3 separate regions of the Homo sapiens genome follow, and all the other regions are linked to region 2. Evidence: promoter capture Hi-C in 16 types of primary human blood cells and fetal thymus (Javierre and others, 2016). All regions are on one chromosome and are shown on one strand. Each heading gives the region's core, a stretch centred on a gene start or on the middle of the fragment in contact. The rest is flanking DNA. Distances are from core to core; before and after follow the strand shown.

Region 1 (3,035 bases), core at 521-3,020, 260 kb before region 2:
TCCTGACCTGAAATAGATGTTTTAACCTTAGTATTTAAAAATAGGTATGTTCTGGTCACTTCAAAATCACTAAATACTTTTGCTTGGCATCTTTCTAAAAGGCATTATAATCTGGTAACTTTTTTGCTAAATACCTTACAAGCTTCCACCAGTCTGCAGAAGAATTTCTTTGTCTGACATTTTGAGAGAAAGTAGTGTGGCCCCAAGCTTTTTTTCCTGTTTAGTCCACTGTTCACATGCTGAAATATTTCTGTTCTTGTTTTTATGCTCTCTTGATTTGTAGTACTTCACCTTCCTCCACATCATCACATAGCTAAATCTTTCTCACACTTAAGACCAGTTCATCCTGCAGGCCTCTGATAGCAAAGAAAAAAAAAGTTCAAGTAGTACCTTTTTTTTTTTAAGCCTTGTTGATTTATCCCCAGCTGGAACAAATCTCTGTCCTCCAAATTCCCATATCACTTTATCTCTTAGGATTCCAGTATAGGTTTTTAGTCCATTACTAAACTTAAAGACTCTTTGAAGTTTGAATCTTCGTCAGAGATTTCTTTTTATTTTTAAAACCTTCAGAACAGTGTCTGGCACATGGTACATAATTAGTGGAGAGAAGTGCATTAGAAAGCTCCAATCCAGAAATCTGTAGGATGATGGGGAAGCTGGACAGCCCTTTGTTGTAGTCTAGTCTTTCATCAAGCGTCTATCAGGACCCACTTGTTGAGTTGTGAAAGAAATTGAGTGAGCCAATGCTGGGAATTTTTAAATAATAGAATAGAAAATATCTGCCAGGCATGATGATGGCTCACGACTGTAATCCCAGCACTTTGGGAAGCCGAAGTGGGAGAATCCTTTGAGCTCAGGAGTTTGAGACCAGCCTGGGTAGCATAGGGAGACCCCCTCTCTTAAAAGAAAAAAAAGAATAGAAAATACCAAAGTGCATCTTGTGTTGTATAAAGGTAAATGCTGTTTCATGAAACTTTCATTTCAGTTACATGCTTTATACATGTGTGCACTGAGTTGTGATAATGAAATGTGTTTCTTACTAAGGGTTGTGGTCAAAAAAGTTAAAAAGCTACTGTTCTAGGCTTTGCCTGGTAGTGATTATCAACTGTGATAATCCTATGGCTTTTCATATGCTTACACTAGTTGAGTTTCTGAAGAGGTTTTAGCTTTGGAGTTTGTGTAGGTCCACATAGAATGGGTTCCTAGTAAGTGGTTGGCTAAGTCTCAGCTTTTGCACCTTGGAATAGTGGGGCAAAGAGAATTGCACTGAGAAGAGAATGCACTAGGAAGAGAATTTTCATGCTAGCCAGAATAAACACTTATTATTTGTTTCTCTCTCTTTGAGGAAAAACCATTCAAAACTTTGTGTTAAGAGCAAGAGCTAGACAGACTAAATCTGGCTTAGTTTGTCATAATCTTGGGCAAAGAGGCACTTTGGGAAAGACTATCGAATTGTATTGCAGTCTTGCTAACTGAAGCTCACAGTAGTAGGAACATATGACTTTACTGAAGCCAGTTGCTTATAGCATTAACCATTAACAGTATCAATATCATGATACAGGCTAAATCACTCTGTCATTAATGTGAGAGAGAATTGCTGCTAGATTTGAAGCTGCTCTTCAAATCTTGATACTCTTCAAAGTATAAATTTAAATATTGCTAAATTGGTTCATTTGTATTACCAGAATAAACTAGTTAAGAAGAAAATCTGTACGTTACATATATTAGTCATTATGTGCTTCAAGTTATATTTAGTCTTGTAAAGATGTAAACTTCTGGATATTAGTCAAGGAAAAAATCTCATATAAGAAGGAAATTTGGAGTTGGGGAGGCGTTGAAACCTAAAAGACATTCCTTTCATGATCCTTATTTTTTAAAATCAATTTATTGAGAGATACTTTAGAAACAAAGTATAATAATTTTAAATGTGTATTTTGATGAGTTTTGACAAATTTGTACACCTGTGCAACTGCTACCACAATGAAGATATAAAACATTTTCATCACCCTACAATGTTCCTAAGGCTCCATGCCAGTCAACCTCCCTCTTTCCTGTCTCCCTGTATTCTCCACTCCCAAGGAACCACTGATCCATTTTCTGTCTCTAGATTACTGATGTCTTTTGGAGATTTTATATAAATGGAATCATATATATTCGTTTACATCATAACCTTAATTTTATTAGTTTATAGCCATAAATGTATTGTGTATTAGAGACAAGATAGAATTTAGGGAAGCCTGTTAGTGCCCCTAACAGACTCACAGTCTGGCTGAAAACCTGATTTTCTATTCTATACCCAGAATCTCTGAGGAGCAGACTTAGTCAACCAATTCCAAAGAGACTGGTGTAAAAATCAGAAAACCGGTTTGTCATGTTGCTGATTATATTTGCTCCCTGTTGGCCAATCTATATGTAAATCCAAATTATAGCTAGAAATTTACCTAGCGAGCATTCCATTAGATCAAGGGCAGTGCTTTGGAGAACCATATGGCCACAAGTCCTCTTGCTGTGATGACATAGCCTGTTATTTATGGCTCATAGATTCTTATGTTGTATCCATTTTGGTTATGAGTAATGGGGTTGATTAATTTTTATTTTGATTAAATTTTGTTATATTTTTCCTAACATTCCAACATTCATTTGGGAAATAAGAATTTCTCAAAATTCTTATTCTAGAAATAAGAATTTTCAAGTGTGCAGTGAAATCAAAGGAATTTGAAAATAAACACCTGTATACCTGCCAGTTAGGGTCTATTAACATCTTACTATAATTGCCTTACCAGATATTTCTCCACCCATTCATCCATTTTTTGATGCATTTCAAAGTAAATTTTAGATATCAATACACTTCTTTCTAAGTACTTGGACATATAGTTGCACATATTTTGGTTTCTTCTTTCACACTGTATTGAGACACCTTGCAAATGATTAATTCCACCAGCATGTGTGGATTTATGGAGAGTGGTACTGTACTTTGCCACGATAATGAGCAGCTCAGTTAGGTCACGTCATTTTATTATTCAGATGTTGGAATT
Region 2 (2,762 bases), core at 222-2,721:
ACACACACACACACACACACACACACACACGGTGACGTGCCTCGGTGCCATCTGAGGACAGGGCCGCCTTCCTCCCCCTCGGGAGGATGCCCCCACCCTGATTTGGTATGTAATTATGTTCAGGGAGAAGCTGGGCCCCACTGTCGGCGAGGAAACCCCCTAAAAGCTCACCTCCGCCTGTGTGTGCAATTCAGTGGGAGCCTCTTTCTCACCCCTGGTTTCCTGTCATGTCTGTGGGTCGCATTTCAACCAGACCAGCCGGAAGGCTCCAGACCGAAGTCAGGAGGCCTGTTCTGGTCCTGTGTGACTCTGAGCAGGTGGCTGACCATATCTGGGCCTCAGTTCTCACATCTGTGAAAAAGAGAAGTAATGTCTCCCTCGCGAACCTGCTGAGGGTCTTGAGAAAGTGTGCATGAGAATGCTTTGTAAATAATGCTTGTGTGAGTGAGTGGCGGGCATCGCTCCCTGAGCTGTCTTCTAGCTCTGGAGCTCCAGCCTGCTTTCCCACCTTGGGCCCTTGGGCGCCAACATCTGATAGCCCTACTGTGTCCTCCTTTTGCATACCCCTCTGCCTTTCCCATTCTCAGTCTCTGCATACTCCTACTGTAAGGAGAAGGGCAGTGTACTGAGATGGAGTGGAGAGCAGGAGTCCAGGGGCAGGCAAAGCAGTGGACTTGGAATCGAGTCCACTTGACAAGTTCCAATTCCCGTCTCAGTTATTACCTCTGTTCACAGAGCTCCCGGCAGCAGATCGCCAGTCCAGCAGAGCCCCCAGTGGTGCAACTGCAATTACACACAGTGTCTCTACCAGTCCTAAGATATATTAGCTCGTTCTCTTTGTAAATTGCATCGTATTTTAAAACTGAATCTTCAAAGTGCTGACATTAACTAAAGAAAAATATGCTAGAGTCTTTCATCTGTTTATGTTTTAATTAAACAATATTTCTCCAGGGTCCTTAAGTGGCAGAGGTCCAGGATGCAGAGATGAGGCCAGGTCCTGGTTCCTGGGCTCCCTCTACCCCACCCCACTGATGCATCCCATGCTCCGTGTGCTCTTCCCACCCTCCCCTCCCCGACCTTTGCCAGGGACCCTCCCTAGCCTCCCTTGCTGGTTTTGAATCTCCACCTCCTCTCCCCTCTCCTTTCCCGCACCCACGAAACTCCCAGAGTGGAAGCACATCACTGACCCACCATGGAGGCCTGGGCATGACGTCCCTGGCCATCCTGTGACCAGTGAGGCTTGGGGCTTGTGATCAGGGTTCCAAGTGCCCCTGAGTTTGTCATCCACCCTCAGCCTGCCTTTCCCTGGAAAGGGCGGCAAAGCTAGGGCCCTGCAAAGAAGAGAGGCAGCACACAGAGGGAGCAAGGGGGAAGCAGTCCATAACTCGCCCACAGTTTCCTCCTGGCCTTTTCAGCTCCTCCCTCAGGGGTAGGTCATGGTGGGGAGGGGCAGCTGGGCACAGGGGAGAGCAGGCATCTTCTACAGAGGCCTGGGAAGCTGTGTGCCAGACAGCGCCGAGCCCACCAGACCCAGACTCACCTACAGCTGGAGATCCCCACTTCCCTGTGCCCACAGAATCTGCCCTTTGCAGTCTCCCATCTCCCCAACCCAGGCCTCAGCCTGTCTCATTTTTCTATCAGACGTGCTGGAAGAGCAGCAGAATCAGGCCCAGCTCCCAATTCCCTCTCCCCAGTCTTCTCCAGGTGTCCCCTCCCATGAGCGCACAGGAAAAGGACCACATGGCCTGGCGAGCCCTACACCCACTGCTACTGCTGCTGCTGCTGTTCCCAGGTGAGGGGGAGGAGGAGCCCAGGGAGCAGAGGAGATGGGTGTGGTGGGGACTGTCAGGACAGCAGGGTCAGGGAGCAGGTGGCTCTGTGGCCAGAGGCCTGCTGTGAGGCAGGTTGTGCGCGTGGCCTTGACCTATGCGTTACTTCATCATTCTCCAGGCTCTCAGGCACAATCCAAGGCTCAGGTACTTCAAAGTGTGGCAGGGCAGACGCTAACCGTGAGATGCCAGTACCCGCCCACGGGCAGTCTCTACGAGAAGAAAGGCTGGTGTAAGGAGGCTTCAGCACTTGTGTGCATCAGGTTAGTCACCAGCTCCAAGCCCAGGACGATGGCTTGGACCTCTCGATTCACAATCTGGGACGACCCTGATGCTGGCTTCTTCACTGTCACCATGACTGATCTGAGAGAGGAAGACTCAGGACATTACTGGTGTAGAATCTACCGCCCTTCTGACAACTCTGTCTCTAAGTCCGTCAGATTCTATCTGGTGGTATCTCCAGGTGAGCTCTTTCCCTAGGGTCCTCAGAGGGGTGCCCCTCACCCCCTTTTGGTGCCTCCATCACCCCTGGTTTCCCAATCGTGGAAGCCACCCATGCCCACGCCCCAGTCTCCTGGGAAGGCTGTTGGGAACAGGTGCAGGGGGAACTCATATGTGCACAAGAGCAGCCATCTCACAGTCTGCATGACTCCCAAGCCTGCAGCCTGGGCCTCCTGAGAGATGCTGAAACAGACCCGGTGAGCATGCTGACCAGTCAGCCTATATGACCCTGCTACAGGAGGGCAGGACCACCCGGCATCTTTGGTACATAGTAGGTGCCCAGGAAAGGTGCATCCACTGGCTGCCCCCACCATGTAGAGCCAGTGGTATCTGGGTAGTCTAGATACCAAGATACTATGGGTATCCCTCATAGTCCAGATCGGGGACTAAGAATGAGTGAAAAAAACTAAGAATGAGTGAAAAAAAATCAAA
Region 3 (3,104 bases), core at 153-2,652, 280 kb before region 2:
GGAAACCCGTATTTATAGAGAGATGACCTTTCTTCCTCTCCCTTGGGTTTCAGGTTTCTTTGGGTCTTCTCCTCTTGCCTAGGGAAGAGGAGGAGGGGAAAATGTCAGAGCTTAAGAAGGGCAGAAAGAAACAGTCACCTCACAACCATCAAAGCCAATTTGCAATTGCATGCTGGGCCAAATTCACACTGGCCTAAATTCATACTTTCAGCTGAGCTATAGGGAGCTCCAGAAGGAAAAGAGGGACCACACAGCAGCTACTGTTTAAGCTTCCAAGCTATTTGAGTAGCCATGAATACTTGCCAGGGTTCCACCTGATAATCCATCATATAGGTGGCCCTGGATTAGACTTGGGGAGTGGGGCAAAAGGTCTTGAAGAGCAAGTTTGGGCAGGAACGGTAAGCTCTGAGCTTCTCAAAAGCAAAAAGCCACTCCAGGAAGTGAAGGGACCATTTGGCAACTGGTAAAGTTGAGGAGTGGTCTGGTGGGGTGAGTACCTTTGGGGAGCACTCACTATAAGTGAACGCCTGACAGGGATTGAGAAGAGGAGCAGGGAAACATCAGGCGATCCATTCTCCTAAAATGTTAAGTAAACAATAAACACCTCCAACTAGGGACACAGGGGCTTAGAGAGCTAAGTATAGTACCTGATGGAATCCTGGGGCTGGGTCCTCAAACACATCCATCTCCACAGTGGAAAATGAACCTGACAGCACGGGACATGGAAACTTGGGTGGATACATTTTGGTGATGGGTGGGGGTGAGGGAATCCTGCAGGGAAATAAGTCAAGTTTACTCATATCTTTGGCATCTGCTGCTCATCCCTAGGCAGCCAAGGCCCTGGGATACCAGGGATTCCCCTGCAGCCCAGGGAGTCTGTTGACTTCTTTGGGGAAAGAGAAGAGGTGGAGACAGGCAATAGTAGAATTAATGGTGCCATAGGTATCTCTTGGGGCAGGCAGAGAGATTACATTTTTAAAAAGGAAAACATTGAATCTTTCTAGCTGGTACTCATCTCCTCCTCTCTTGACATTTTTCATCTCTCCTATTAAAAATTCATTTTCTTTGGACTTCAAACTTGAACAAATCTTGCCTATTTTAGAAAAACACACACATACACATAAAAGTAAAAACAATCTTCAACTCTGATGTCTTCTCTGGCCCTTCTCTTTTTTCTTCTCCTTGTTATTACCAAAATTTTCAAAATTCCTGGACTTTTCCTGCTGTTTTCATTTCCTAACCATCCATCTCCTCCTCAAAGGCACCCACACAATTCATCACCAAGTTTAGTGTCCTAAGATACCTACTGGACTTGTTCAATTTGAGGCTTTTCCTCAGCTTCACACTATCTGCCTATTGCCAAGACTGTAATCTTGCATGGACATCATTTTTATTGTTTTCCTTCTCAAGAACCTGTAACAATTCTCTACTGCCTCCCGAATCAAGGCCAAACTTTCGAGAACCTTCATAATACTTCCTTTACTGTACCTATCCAATTTTAGCAGTCTTATAATGTTCTCAGCTGTTTTATTTACATCTTCTCTGTCCAGCTGCAATCTAGCTGCTAAATTATAAGCATCTGGAGGGCAGAGACCAAGTCCTTTAAGATTTGGAGGTGACTCAATACTAAATACAGGCTTAACTATCCCAAGATACCCTTGAGTAGTCTGTCCTCACAGATAAAAATTCTTGGACACTTAGCATGTGACAATCCCTTTACCTGAAAGTAAACAGACTTGAGAAGTAGTCACTTGAGAAGGAGAGCATGTTATTGCAAGTTTTAGGCCATTTCATGCCAAGATGCAATTTACATGAGTTACAAGGAAGAGAAAAAAGCATAAAATGCTCTGCAAAATCTTTGTTTTGCTCTGTCATGAGAAATTTTATATGCTTGCTACTTACCTGGCCACTTATTGGAATCATCCAGAGAGCTTTTTAAAAATACTGATGCTTGGACCACCTCTCCACATGTTCTGATTTAATTGGTTTGGCATGAGGCCCAGGCACTGACATTCTCAGTCTTCTAGGTGATTCTAAGGTATAGGCAGGTTAAAGATTCAGTGATTTAGAAATGTAGGGGTATGTTGTGCTGGAAGAGTGATGGTGGAGACAATGTCCTAGTAGGGTGACCAAAATGCACACCTCAGTCCAAATTCTCCTCTCCTTCAGATAAACCCTTCTGGATTTTTTAATGCTTTTTTTTTTTTTTTTTTTTTTGTCACTGATGTTACCACAGACAAGACCTATTTATAGTAAGAGTGAATGCATTTCTGAAGTACTGACCTGGAAGAGCTACCTACTCTAGGCTGGTTCTAGAAACAAGAACTTATCATTCTTTCCTGTCCTTTTGTCTCCTTGACCTACAGAGAACGGCTGCCTGCCAACTTCTTTAAATTCCAGTTCCGGAATGTGGAGTACAGTTCCGGGAGGAACAAGACCTTCCTCTGCTATGTGGTTGAAGCACAGGGCAAGGGGGGCCAAGTGCAGGCATCTCGGGGATACCTAGAGGATGAGCATGCGGCTGCCCATGCAGAGGAAGCTTTCTTCAACACCATCCTGCCAGCCTTCGACCCAGCCCTGCGGTACAATGTCACCTGGTATGTGTCCTCCAGCCCCTGTGCAGCGTGTGCTGACCGCATTATCAAAACCCTTAGCAAGACCAAGAACCTGCGTCTGCTCATTCTGGTGGGTCGACTCTTCATGTGGGAGGAGCCGGAGATCCAGGCTGCTCTGAAGAAGCTGAAGGAGGCTGGCTGTAAACTGCGCATCATGAAGCCCCAGGACTTCGAATATGTCTGGCAGAATTTTGTGGAGCAAGAAGAGGGTGAATCCAAGGCCTTTCAGCCCTGGGAGGACATTCAGGAGAACTTCCTATACTACGAGGAGAAGTTGGCAGACATCCTGAAGTAGGGCAACTGGGCTTTGCCTCACGTGAGTTTTCCTGGTGCCATGGCACCAACACTTTATTATGTTAACTCCAGTAGAAGGTGTGAGGTCAGGTAGAATCTGTGATATGTCTGATTTTCCTTTGGAAGGGTTTCATTTCTCTGCTTTTGACTGGTTGCAAAAATAGTTTAGAACATGTCTCTTTCCTCTGAATCCCT

What was found. The method cuts DNA at HindIII sites, captures the fragments that hold promoters and counts their contacts. A CHiCAGO score of 5 or more calls a contact.
Region 1: a contact is called between a fragment that was not itself captured here and the fragment with the promoter of NCR2 in region 2, in 4 of 17 cell types (monocytes, naive CD4 T cells, megakaryocytes and 1 more). The highest score is 6.1, in monocytes.
Region 3: a fragment that was not itself captured here is called in contact with the fragment with the promoter of NCR2 in region 2 in 1 of 17 cell types (neutrophils); the score reaches 9.1 in neutrophils.

Annotation. Positions count from the first base shown.
Region 1 is chr6:41,075,343-41,078,377 of GRCh38, forward strand. The region is part of intron 1 of NFYA (nuclear transcription factor Y subunit alpha); the gene reads left to right. It also overlaps a transcript of OARD1 not described here. Among named protein-coding and RNA genes, the nearest start is that of NFYA, 3.9 kb to the left of the region's middle. The HindIII fragment of the contact is 3,130 bases long and covers 206-3,035 here.
Region 2 is chr6:41,334,137-41,336,898 of GRCh38, forward strand. NCR2 (natural cytotoxicity triggering receptor 2) reads left to right here and starts at 1,472. Exons shown (of 5, transcript NM_004828.4): 1 at 1,472-1,792; 2 at 1,951-2,292. The coding sequence starts at 1,741. RefSeq lists an enhancer at 90-219. The HindIII fragment of the contact is 13,900 bases long and covers 1-2,762 here.
Region 3 is chr6:41,058,962-41,062,065 of GRCh38, forward strand. It overlaps APOBEC2 (apolipoprotein B mRNA editing enzyme catalytic subunit 2), which reads left to right. Exons shown (of 3, transcript NM_006789.4): 2 at 2,367-2,931. The coding sequence ends at 2,910. Among named protein-coding and RNA genes, the nearest start is that of APOBEC2, 7.3 kb to the left of the region's middle. The HindIII fragment of the contact is 2,270 bases long and covers 268-2,537 here.